Regions from separate parts of the Homo sapiens genome. Here regions 1 and 3 are each linked to region 2. The links are contacts of gene promoters, found by promoter capture Hi-C in human tissues and cell types (Jung and others, 2019). All regions are on one chromosome and are shown on one strand. The core of a region is centred on a gene start or on the middle of the fragment in contact, and the rest is flanking DNA. Distances in the headings are between cores, read along the strand shown. Region 1 overlaps PTPN1 (protein tyrosine phosphatase non-receptor type 1). Region 2 holds the start of BCAS4 (breast carcinoma amplified sequence 4). Region 3 has its middle 140 kb from the start of KCNG1.

The links. Contacts are between HindIII fragments. The study calls those that stand out against the background at their distance.
Region 1: a contact is called between a fragment that was not itself captured here and the fragment with the promoter of BCAS4 in region 2, in 1 of the 25 tissues and cell types used here (dorsolateral prefrontal cortex).
Region 3: a fragment that was not itself captured here is called in contact with the fragment with the promoter of BCAS4 in region 2 in 2 of the 25 tissues and cell types used here (bladder and thymus).

What each region holds. Positions count from the first base shown.
Region 1 is chr20:50,512,186-50,516,281 of GRCh38, reverse strand. The region is part of intron 1 of PTPN1 (protein tyrosine phosphatase non-receptor type 1); the gene reads right to left. Among named protein-coding and RNA genes, the nearest start is that of PTPN1, 3.9 kb to the right of the region's middle. The HindIII fragment of the contact is 4,243 bases long and covers 467-4,096 here.
Region 2 is chr20:50,792,459-50,796,769 of GRCh38, reverse strand. BCAS4 (breast carcinoma amplified sequence 4) reads right to left here and starts at 1,709. Exons shown (of 5, transcript NM_198799.4): 1 at 1,597-1,709. The coding sequence starts at 1,686. RefSeq lists a silencer at 1,157-1,976. The HindIII fragment of the contact is 12,365 bases long and covers 1-4,311 here.
Region 3 is chr20:51,158,058-51,162,532 of GRCh38, reverse strand. No RefSeq gene overlaps it. Among named protein-coding and RNA genes, the nearest start is that of KCNG1, 140 kb to the right of the region's middle. The HindIII fragment of the contact is 5,297 bases long and covers 1-4,436 here.

The DNA.
Region 1 (4,096 bases), core at 1,339-3,838, 280 kb after region 2:
GTGGTCTGATCAAAGGCCAAAGAATGTCATTACCATTTATAGTTTGAAAAAAAAAATCAAAGACTTGGTAACAGTCGTTATTTTATGGAGAACTATATTTTATATCCCAAAATCAAAAAGTATTTTATGAACCAACCACATGCAAAGGCCCGCTAGGCTTGTGAGAACCAGTCAGGAGGGATGAGGGAAGAGGAATTCAACAATTCTTAGAGAGACAAACATATTACCTCCAAGTTGCCTGTAAAGTTCACCGTAGGCCAAGCACAAATTTATTGTTATATTTAAAGCTTCTGTGAAACAAATCAGTGGTATCAGCTTCTACTGGCTAAGAATGCCAGCCTTTCTTCCAAAGCCACTGCAGCAGGCAATACTAAATTACCTCATTAGGCCATGACTCAAAATGTGGTGGGGGCCTTCTCCCAGAGTGACCTCTACTATTGGTACTAATGTGGGCTAATCTATTTGTTTCCATCATTGCCCCCCTAGAGTGGGAGCCAGGAACATGTTTTGTACATCTTTATACCATCAGGCTAGCAAAGTACTGACCATCAATTCAATCCCAACTCTTGTTAGGTACCTACTCTGTGCCAGGAGCAGAGGACTTCAAGATGAATGAGAAAGATACAACAGGTGGCCTCAGGAAGCTTGGGCTCCATTGGAGATAGACCTGGGATATAAAGTAGCAGCTACAGCTGGGCACAGTGTCTCATACCTATAATCCCAGCACTCTGGGAGGCCAAGGCAGGAGGATCACTTGAGCCCAGGAGTTTGAGACCAGCCTGGGCAATATAGTGAGACCTTGACTTTATAAAAATTTAAAAAAAAAATGTTTGTAAAGACGCAGCTACAATGACAGCAGGGCTTTAGAAGAGATATGTGCCAGCTTGTATGAAAACACACAGGTGACGGAACAAAACTCTGGTGCAAGGAAGCACACATTCGAGCTGGAAGATGCAAGCTAGATTGAACGGGAGAGGCATCCTCAACAAAGTGCTCAGCAATGGTATAGAGGAATGAAGGGCGAGGATGAGTTTGGAGAACGCTGCCCTTTCTTGTCTGGCTAGAATGGAAGCCACATAGGAGGGAAGGACTGGAAGCTGGCTGCCATGCTAAAGAGGAGTTTGGACTTTACAAGTGTTATGAAAGAATCAGAAGTAGTTGCAGAGGAGTGAGAGACTCAGATCTGGTTTTAGAACAATGAATTACTCTAGTGATGATGGGACCATATTAACGGGTAACCGGCTTCACTCATTTCTGCAGTGTGAAACTAGAAACCATTGCAGGCTCATAAGCAACATCTGAGAACCTAGACTACTAGTGTGGTGGAAAGGATGCCATAGTGACCAACCAGTGAAATGTGGCAGAGGGAATCACCAACTACTCCAAAGTCCCCAGCCCTCCTGGATACTCAAAATGTGAACATGGAATGGCTGGTGCCAAACTACATCATCTGGGAACAATGACCCAGCTAGAATTCCAATTTTCCTGAATATGGGCAGCATAAAGTAACATGCCCAGCCGATTTGCCAGTATTAGTTGTTACCAGAAACAAATCAGCATAAACACTGTAGGGAGGAATGCCAAATTGTGCAAAATATATATAGGCTCAGGCAGGCCTCAGAAAAAGTACCTGCTCACGCCTGCAATCCCAACTTCAGGAGGCCAAGGTGGGAGGATCGCTTGAAGCCAGGAGTTCAAGACCAACCTGGGCAACACAGCAAAACCCCATTTCTATTTAAAAGAAAGAAAGAAAGAAAAAGCAGTGCTAGGAACAGAAATTGCCAAAAGGATTCTGTAATCTACAAGATCACAAGACAGTTTTCTTTAACAAAGAGAAAAGGGAAAGAATCACACAACAAAAGGCCGTTATTTCAGTAGCTAAGTCAAAAAACCTCCACAGGAAATTTCTTATTCATTTCCACTGTGAAATTCAGTACACATTCAATTACATTATTCAATACCAGGTATTTTAATAGGTTTTGAGGAGCTATTCAAGATAAAATGCAAAATGGAGGAGAAGTAACGGCAGATAACTTGCAGCTAAGAAACAGCGGCATTACCATTATCCCCCAGCTGACTTTTTAGAACCACTGGTTGGTTTACTTACTTCCAAAAACACCAAAGTATTCCTATAAATATGCCAGTGATGTCAAATAACAATAGCAAAAAGTTCTTTCCTTCACTATTTCTACTTGTGCTCCCAGTTAATCTAATATCAGTCCAGACAATTACAAAGGCATTTACACCATTTCCAAAGTACTGATCAGACACCTAAATTTAGTTCACTCAAACCAGGGCTAAACAAGAACATTTAGATCTAATGGGTCACTCAAGATGACTAGAACTTCCCAGTCTCTCCATGTCATTTCCGTTAGTCTTTTTTTTTTTAAGTGAAGTGAGTCATAGTGTATAGATCTTTCTCCTTTGCATAAAATAGTTTTTTTTCCTCTGAAGAAAATAGTATTTAAATAAACATTATTGGCAAATTTTAATATTCATCTTTTTGGAATATAACAACATAAGCTGTATATCAGTAAGGAATTTTAGTGAACTATTGTTACAACATGGTTTTAACCTAGTCAGGCATTAGATTGTATTTCATAATGAAAACAGCTATAAAAACAAATGTCAATTGGAAGAGTGGCCCATTTTACAAAGCCTGCCTCTAACATGAATAAATCTTGCCTTCATGTCACAAGGTATTATTGCAGTCCCCTTTATCTGAAACAATCAAATCATTCACAATGAAATATAGTGAGTGGTGTCAGAGAATCAAAGAATTTACAGACGAGAAAACAAGCAAAACACCGGACCCAACCCCTCTTAAACTACAGATGGAGGGGAGCACATGAGCTATTCTTTTCATTCACTCAACCCTCTCTCCTCTCATTCTAGCTCAGTAAAATCAATCTCTTTTCCTCATCTGGGCTCATTCTCTCCTCTTAGACAGCTAGGCCCAATCAAGCAACCGGATGATTTGAAAGTGTTTAAATGCTAGAAAACAATGTTTAAAGCCATCTATATACACTATCAAAGCTGACTTTTTATAGACCTAGATGCTTATTAGCATCTATGCTATTCATTAGCATTAAAGATTAAAAATACGGTTATGCTCACTTTATCAAACTGACCTAGCAAAGAATCTCTGCCTAAAAAGTTTGTTTTCCAAGCTGCCACATTCCTCAGCACTCAAAAGTCCTCTTCACTCTTTGTTCTTTTCCCAATAGTTTTCAAGTTTTTACATCTTTTTGTTCTAATCAGAAAATAAGTTAGAATAACTGACCTGCTTACCAAGTTGTAAGCAAAAATTACATTATTCTCTGATCACAATAGGCTAGGCAAGCTCAAAGTATGACTTTGTATAAGGCTGCCCTCATTTCAACATGCTATAAAGTATTAATTTTTTTAAACTTCCATTTTCTATCAATTGTAAACACATTCTTTGAATCCTTGAAAAATAATGGTTTTGGTAAAGCGATACACACCTTGGAAAGTTAGCCACTTTAGACTCAAGGTCATCTGAACTCTGTTTCAGAAAACGCTACAGTTGTATGACAAAGAGCTACTTTTACACTTAGGAGAAAAGCTTCTGATTTCAAGATCTTAGAAAAGAAAAATATCCATACAGTGGAGGTGAGAAAAGCTGGCCCTGACAATTCTCTAAGACCAAAAGAAACTACCTCAGGGAATGTGGCAATCCATTAAGAAGCAGTGAAAATCTCAACACCTTGACTAACTTGTGGGGTTTAATTGTGGCAGAAAAACTTAAGAACAATGAAGGAAATGAATTGAAGACTGACACACTCCATGCTAGTTGCATGCTGAATACAATTTTAACCATGCTTGGGTGACAGGTCAACCCACTCTGGCTTAAAATTGTAAGAAATAAAATTCAACTAAGAACTAAGTTACAATACGTATTTCTTGTTGTCAACTCAGTCAATTTCAGTGGAAAAGACTTCTCTCCACAATGCTTCCACTGTGATGGGGTGTATCATAATCAACTCCAACACTTCAGACCAACAATTTTCATTTAAAGACATTTTAGACTCTACTGCATTAAACTGATGCAGAAAATTTGTCTACACAGTCTCAA
Region 2 (4,311 bases), core at 460-2,959:
GTAATCCCAACACTTTGGGAGGCCGAGGAGGGTGGATCACGAGGTCAAGAGATAGAGATCATCCTGGCCAACATGGTGAAACCCCGTCTCTACTGAAAAATACAAAAATTAGCTGAGCATGGTGGCACACGCCTGTAGTCCCAGCTACTCGGGAGGCTGAGGCAGGAGAATTCCTTGAACCTGGGAGGCGGAGGTTGCAGTGAGCTGAGATCATGCCAATGCACTCCAGCCTGGTGACAGAGCAAGACTCCATCTCAAAAAAAAAAAAAAAAAAAAAAAAAATATATATATATATATATATATATATATATATATATGGAGAAAAAGAAAAAGAAAAAAGAGAAAACTCATATATATGTATATATATATATATGGAAAGATATTTTATGGTTTTTTTTTTTGAGAGGGAGTTTTGCTCTTGTTGCCCAGGCTGGAATGCAATGGCTGATCTCAGCTCACTGCAGCCTCCGCCTCCCAGGTTCAAGCGATCCTCCTGCCTCAGCCTCCCAAGTAGCTGGGATTACACACCCGGCTAATTTTTGTATTTTTAGTAGAGACGGGGTTTCACCATGTTGGTCAGGCTGGTCTCGAGCTCCTGACCTCAGGTGATCCACCCGTCTCGGCCTCCCAGTAGTGCTGGGATTACAAGCGTGAGCCACCAGGCCTGGCGAGATAGATTTTTTTTTAAATGTCTCACTCTGTCGCCCAGGCTGGAGTGCAGTGGCATGATCAAGCCTCACTGCAGCCTCACTCTTCCCCGTCCCCTATCCCCATCCCAAGCAATCCTCCTGCCTCAGCCTCCCAGAATGCTGGGACCACTGGCATGAGCCAATACTCTGCCTAGGCAGATACAGATATCTACATTTGTAAATGCATTTTAAATGTCCGGAATGATTTATACCAAACAGTTAATGCTGGTTTTCTAAGAAAACTAGAATTGGGGTGGGAGAGAAAAGAGAAAGGGGTGCATAGCCTTTATGTTAAATACTCCTGTACTGCTTTTGTGGTTTAAAAAGAGAATGGGTTGAATTTCTGACCGTAAATAACTCCTAGTGAACTCAGACAAATAACTTTTTCACAACAGCGTCGACAGATGCCTCCAGCCGGAAGGTAGAGGGTCTCGTTTTAGATCTGCTTTTCACTTGGTGCTTTTAAAATAGAAAGCGCAGACAGAGGCGTGGTGTTTTCGCTCCGAGCTGCAGCAGCGCAGCGCGGCCCGCACAGCCGCAGCCTGAGGCGCCGCTCGGCCCGGGCACCGCTCGGAGGTAGCCGGGGCAGCAGAGGTCCCGGGGTCCGCCTCTCCCAGGGCCGGCCTGGCAAAGGGCGGCGCCTGAGGACCCGGCGGATGCTGGGGGACCCGGGTGGGGAGGGAAAGCGAGCCTGGGCCTCCGGGGCCCGGTGTCGCCCGGAGGAGCGAGCAGGGACGACCCGCTGCACATCTCTGCGTGGCGCCCCGCAGCCACCCTTCAGGAAGGGGGGAATCCCCGGGCCCCCCACTCCGGGAGCGAGAGGATGCTCCGGGGAAGCCGAGGGTCCGGAGCCCGGACCCCTAACCGCGAGAACCCTCTCCTCCAACTCCACAGCCCCGTCCCCTACCTCGGCCCCAGGCTCGGGGGTCAGGAAGAGCGCGAGCTCGCGCGCCCCGCTGCGCATGGGCTCCGGCTGATCAGCGTCCACGAGCAGCATCAGGAGGGCGACGGGGTCCGGCTGGCGGAGGCTGCCTGGGAGCCCGTGGTTGCGCCCGGGCCTCGGAGCCCCGCCCCCGGTCCGCTGCATGCCCCGCGGACCGCCTGGCGGAGGCGGGGCAGGTGCGCTCCCGGCGGTCGCGGCTCGCAGCTCCAGGAGCGCCGGGCCGAGCGGGCAGCGCCACCCAGTGGCGAGCGGCGCGCGCTGCGCCCGCCCCCGCAGCACCTGGGCATCAGTGCTTTGCAAACTCGCTTGCAGATGGCAGTCACCTGGAGCTCTTTTAGAATTTCCCAAGCCTGGACCACACCGTCTCTGGGTTAAGACCTGGGCATCAGGATCTTTTGATGTTTGTTAGGTGGTTCCAACCAGATTGTTGACCCAAAGCTAAATTTGAGAACTATTGGGGCAAGCCACCCCTCCCCATCGGAATCCCGGTAGAGTACAGGCTCCCGGCCCCGGACCCGGCCGTAAAATAGAATCCCCGGGAAGCTTTTAAAAGCCCGGAAGCCAGGCCTCGCACCAGGCCGATTAAGTTGGAATCCTTCGGAGTGGGGCTTGGGCATCGGTAGTTTCTAAAACTCCCCGGGTGATTCTAACGGGCGTCCGGGTTAGAGAGGCGCTAGCTTAGAGGAAGCCCAAAGCCGCCCGCCCCCCACCCGTTCCCATCCTACTAAAGCATCTAGTTTGCATCGGGCGGAGGGTCCTGGAATTTAGGGAAGGCCGAGTGTGACGGTCCTCGTCTTCCTCTTCGGTGCGGATTTTAAAATAAACTTCACCAGGAAACTATTGAGCGCACTACATTTCACAACCGCACCCACTCCCTCCATGCCCTCGGAGGCCGGCCTAGATAGACCCTTTACAAGCCTTGGGGCTGAAGAGAGCGAGGTGCGCCTCATCTCCCACCCCAACAGTGCTAATGAGGAAAGTACTAAAAGGCAAATAGGTATAAGACAAGTCTGAAGTTTTGATTTTTCGTTTGATGACTTATTTTTATTTTTAATTAATTAATTTTTTTTTTTTGGAGACGGAGTCTCGCTCTGTCGCCCAGGCTGGAGTGCAGTGGTGCGATTTCGGCTCACTGTAACTTCCACATTCCGGGTTCAAGCAATTCTCCCCCTCCCTCAGCCTCCCGAGTAGCTGGGATTACAGGCGCCTGTCACCACGCCCGACTAATTCTAATTTTTGTATTTTTTAGTAGAGACGGGGTTTCGCCATGTTGGCCAGGCTGCTCTCGAACTCCTGACCTCAGGTGAGCCACCTGCCTCGGCCTCCCAAAGTGCTAGGATTACAGGCGTGGGCCAGCGCCCCCTGCCTGCTGACTTTTCTTTAAATGTTAAATCGCCTCACAAAAAAAAAAAAAAAAAAAGGCTGAGCTGCTTGGGCAAACATAAGGAGACTCCATCTCTCTAAAAGAAAAAAAAAAATTAAAATTGCAGGATGTGGTGGGGCACAACTGTAGTCCTAGCTACTGGAGAGGCAGATGCAGGAGGATTGTTTGAGGCCAGGAGTTCAAGGCTACCGCGAGTTATGATCGCACCACTGCACTCCAGCCTGTGTGACACAGTGAAACTCTGTCTTTTGTTGTTGTTGTTGTTTTTTAAAAAGGAGGGGCTGGTATCAAGGGTGCAAATAAATATATAGGACGTCCCACACCTTCCTCTCCATTAAATCTGAATTTATATTGTAGTTGGCCACCCTAGGTAGGGGCCTAAACAACACATGTTTGACCTGCCTTTTGTGTAGTCCATCACTGCACAATTCCCACTTCCAAATCTGTCCACTGCTAATTTCTCCCTATCCAAATATCCAGGCCTTCAGGCCAGTCATTTTCTGGAAAATTCTTGGCAAAGACTTGGGCCTCAAGTGCTTAAGGGTTTTATAGGAACTCACTGAGCCCACACTCGGCCATTCGTCATTGTCATGATTTCCCTGATGCTCTGAGCCCTCCTCGCCATCCCCTGGGAGCCGGTCTCAGACCCTTGCCCTTGCCTGCTGGCTAGGCATCTCCCACAAAGAGCCCAGGACTGGCCTCAGATCACCAAATTGACCTGAGCACAGCAAACTTCTCCTGGTGGATAAATCTCAGAAACATAAAGCTAAGGAAGAAAAGTCGTGTTGCAGAAGGCTCTGTAGGGCACTGTGCCATTAGCACAGTTTTTAAAACACGCAGAACCACACTGTATATTGTTTATGGACACCGACAGATGGAGCAAAAGTACAAAGCTGTGCATGGGAACGACGTACCCCATGTTCCAAAAGTGGTTACTTTAGGGCGGGGGAGAAGAAACTGGAGAGGGGTATGGGAGGGAGGGATTTCTTTTTCTTTTCTTTCTTTCTTTCTTTTTTTTGTTTTTTGACAGAGTCTTGCTTTGTTGCCCAGGCTGGAGTGCAGTGGCACAATCTCGGCTCACTGCAAGCTCTGCCTCCCGGGTTCAAGCGATTCTCCTACCTCAGCCTCCCCAGTAGCTGGGATTACAGGAACAAGCACCACCAAGCCTGGCTAATTTTTGTATTTTTAGTAGAGACAGGGTTTCAACATGTTGGCCAGGCCAGTCTCCAATTCCTGGTTTCAAGTGACCCACCAGTCTCGGCCTCCCAAAGTGCTGGGATTACAGGAGTGAGGCA
Region 3 (4,475 bases), core at 539-3,038, 370 kb before region 2:
AGAACAAACTTGTGAAATAAAGAGAGGGTCATTGTGGAGGTGAAGGAACTGAGGGCCCCCCACCAGCTAGCTGTGGAATCAGAACGCACTCCCATCTCTAAATGCCAGCACAAGCTGCATTCTTTAAAGGATTCTTTAAGCCCCAATACTAATATGGTTTGATCATTAGAAATAATAAACCATCATACCAAGAACTGATGCTCACTGAGAGCATGCAGTCTACCTGCCGGGTGCTGAGGGCTTCACATGCCCTCTTCGATGAGACTTCGAAGCAGATACTGTTATCATCCCCATCTGATCAGCAAGGTTCAAAATGGGGAAGTGACTCTCCCAGGGTCCTGTGGCTTCCTGGTGACAGGGCTGGACTTGGAGTCTCAGCCTGCGTTACTCTAAAGGACAGGCAGGGATGCAGCTTCCTTCTCTGTCCTCAGGAAACAGCCACGTGTCATCAGGAAGCTATGTTTTTTTTTTTACAGACGGATCTCTAATGAAACTTATTTACCTCTCTTCATTCCATATTTTCCAAGATACGGATTTAAAGCAACTGAAATAAACATTTATTCACTGCTTTTTTTTTTTTTTTAATCAACTGATGGTCATTGGGTTCCTACTCTGTGTGAGACACTGCCCTGGATGCTGGGCATACACGGTTAACAGCACCAAGGCATACCTTGTGGGCTAGTGCGGGAGAGCCAAGGAAACAGATAGATAAAATACCGGGTGATGAGGCGTCAATGGTGTACATGGAGGGGGTGAGGGGAGCCCACCGAACACACCCGATCCCCTGAACGGAAGGGAAAACACAGAACCCAAGATGAGCCATGAAGTGTTGGAGTTGGCGTTCACCAGAGAAATGGAGCCAACAGGATGCAGACAGATTTATAAGAGGAGATTCATTATGAGAATTTGCTCACGTGATTCTGAAGGCCAATAAGTCCCGTGATGTGCCCTCTGCAAGCTGGAGATCCAGAAAAGCCAGTGATGTAATTCAGTTCAAGTTCATAGCCTGGGGTGCAATTCCCAGTCTGAGTCTGGAGGCCTGAGAACCAGGAGCACCAGTGTCTGAGAGTGGGAGAAGATGGAGGTCCCACCTCCAATGGAGGAAACAGATTCATGCTTCTTCCACCTTTTTGTTCTACTGGGGCTGTCAGAGGACTGGATGATGCATGCCTACATTGGGCAGGGTGGTCTTCTTTACACAGTCTATGGATTCCAATGCTCAGCTCTTCCAGAAACTCCCTCACAGATACACCTAGAAGTCATGTTTAACCAGCAATCTGGGCTTCCCTTAGCCCAGTCAAGTTGACACATAAATAACCATGACATGAAGAATGAGCAGGAATCACCCAGGAGAAGGGGAAGGGACAGAGGGACAGCATGTGTGAAGGCAAGGAGCGAAGCTTGCGGAAAGCCTGCTGTGAGTACTGAAGTGCCTCTGTGTCCCTGAACCATGGGCTGTGCAGTGGGGATTGGGGAAGCCTGAGAGGTTGGGGTAAGGACTTGACCTTGAGGGTGGCGGGGAGCCATACAGGGCAGGTGTGGAGCCACGGTTCCCACTCCCATCCATCCATGCACTCCTCCTCGTGGGCTGGTCCCTTGGAGTTAGGTGGGGCCATGTAACTACTTCTGGCCAATGGGCTGTGAGCAGAAGGGAGCTGTGTCCCTTCCCGGCTGAAGCATTTAAGAGCCAGTACATAAGCCTGTGGGTCTCCTCCCCTGCCACAGGGACCCTGGAGCCACGTATAGCTATAAGATGGAAGCCCTTGGAGACTGGAGCCACCCATCTGCAGGGAGCTTCCATGGAGAGGCTCTAGATCCACAGTAGCCTCTGTGTGCATGAAAAGTAAACATCCAGGTTCAGCCACAGAGATCCTAAAATTTGTTGACAGCAGTGTTGTCTAGCCTGACTAGATCCGAGGGTGGAGAGCAGGTCAAGTTTGGTGACTCATGCCTGGGGAGATGCTTTGGTTAGACAGGCTTAATGGGTATCAAATATTTAAGTTTGGAGATAGCGTCTGCAAATTAGTTCATTCCCACTGGGATTCAATTCTAGCCTCTGCTCCACAAACTGAAACCTCTGTCTTGTACTTTGTGGGTACATGGTGAGCAAGTGGTCAAACCAAGAGAAGAATCGGGGACCAGACAATCTGTAAGCCAACCTCAGACTCAGCCCCCAGTGGAGAAACATATGGGAGGCCCCTCCTAGGGCTTATGTTCATCCCTGTTCTGCCTTGGTCCACCATCAACCACCTGATCAGCCCATTTCTCCTCTGCCTCTATGCACTAACACTTATCCCAGGCTCTTTACAGCCTGGAGTGGGATGTGTCCCTCCATTCTGGCCGATGAGTTGTATAAGCAGGTCTCTTCAAAGGCTACTAGAAAGTGAATGTTTCAGATCAAAAGGCTTCGGCTTACAAAGAGAGCCTCTCACCTATGCCCTGCCTCCTCCCTAGGATGCAGAAGAGGATCAGAGACACAACACCTGGAGCTGTGGCAACCATCTTAGGGTTGGAGATAACAAATTCAAGGACAGAGGGTCAACCCAGAAAGGAGACTGGGAAAGGGCCTAATTCCCTGATGACATTTTTATGACGTGCGGTATCTTGGTACTTCTGCCCAGACACCTTGTTAAGACAGGAGTGATATTCTTATCCTTTTAGCTGCTGTTACTCAGGGGTTTTGGAGCCAAACAGACCCTAACAAATATGCTTTTCACCTTTAGAAATCAATCAGTCAATCAATAGTGTAAATGGTTATCTCAGCTCAGGAGGATCGGTTCCACCAGAGATTCAGGGGAAAAAGCCAGTTGCCTCTCTAAGCTTGTTGTCATATCCTCCTCTGACATGTCTGGAGTCTGAGAGGCAGAGGAGACTGAGCTGGATGTTTTTGCATCTCCTTAGTTTAGAACATTGGCCACTGTTCCTGTGGGTCACGGGCATTCAAGGTCTGTGTTAAAAGCTTCAATCCCCATGCCACTATCTGGGGCTGATCTGAAGCCAACTGCTCTTACTTTTCTCATCTCCTTCCCCGCGCTCCGGGTACAGCCCACAGCCATCTGTGAAGGGCGCTTTGCAGGCATCATCCTTATCAATGTTTTACGCATCTGCAGGAGGCAGCAGAACCCATGGCCAGGCTGCTGCGGCCTCCCATACACAAATCCCGGCTCCTCCTTCCAGTCAGGTCCTAGGTCCTTCTCATTTCTGCATCAACAAGCAGAATGCTGAGGCTAGCGGAGGGCACATCAATGTTTTCTTGGTTTCTCATTATTTTGTCTCCAGCCATCCCACAGATACTAATCTTAAATTCCTAGTATATAACAGTGAAAGGGGCTGGATGCAGGGGCTCATGCCTGTAATCCCAGCACTTTGGGAGGCCGAGGCGGGTGGATCACCTGAGGTCAGGAGTTCAAGACCAGCCTAGCCAACATGGGGAAACCCCATCTCTACTAAAAATACAAAAAATTAGCTGGCTGTGGTGGCACGTGCCTGTAATCCCAGCTACTCAGGAGGCTGAGGCAGGAGAACAGCTTGAACCCAGGAGGCGGAGGTTGCAGTGAGCCAAGATCGTGCCACTGCACTCCAACCTGGGCAACAAGAGCGAAACTGTGTCTCAAAAAAAAAAAAGAGTGGAAGGGACTTGGCTTTAGGGAGCAGAGAGCCCAGGGCATTCATTTCACAGATGGGAAGACTGAGGCTCAGAGAGGAAGTGGTGTTGGCCCATGTTCACACTATGACTTAGAGTCAAAGCCAGAACTAAAATCCAGCTCTTCGTGAGTATAGGATAATCTCTTAAACATAGAATAATCTCTTAAACATAAACAGATGTATATACCTATATGCACATGCAAGTATAACAATCAAGTAGAAGGCTATTCCTTCTTGTTTTTTTCGGTGAGATCATAAACTCCTTGTGGTCAAGTGTGCATATGGTAGAAACTCTATTCAAACGGGGTTGATTATTTAAAGGGGCTTACTGCCTCTCATAAGTGAAAACTCTAGGGACACATCTAACTGGATCCAGTAGGCTAAGAGATCCCCTCTGGATGTTGCATCTCCAAGCTCTGCTGCCTTCCACACAGGCTGACCCACCCCGGAACTGCTAACCTTGGTCAGAGGACGCGGTGCTCAGCCCCTCCTCAGCCACCTGAACCGGAGTGGGTACGTCCTCCAAAAGAGCACTGGTGCTGTTATCAGAAGAGGCGGGAAAGAGGGATTTACAACATCAGATGCCCACCACAGTAAGGAATGTACCTTAGCATCCCTTCATTTCCCCCATAGGTCCCTGTAAACCCTAAAAACAAAACATACCTGACTCCCACATATGTACGAATGAATGAATGTGTGTTGAATAAGCACTCACTGAGCTGCTGATTATTAGCACTGGTGCTGTACACTTATGCTGCCATCCCCAAGGACTGCCCTGTGTCTCTTCATCTTTCCCCACTCCCACCCCACGCTCTCTGCAAGATACTGGA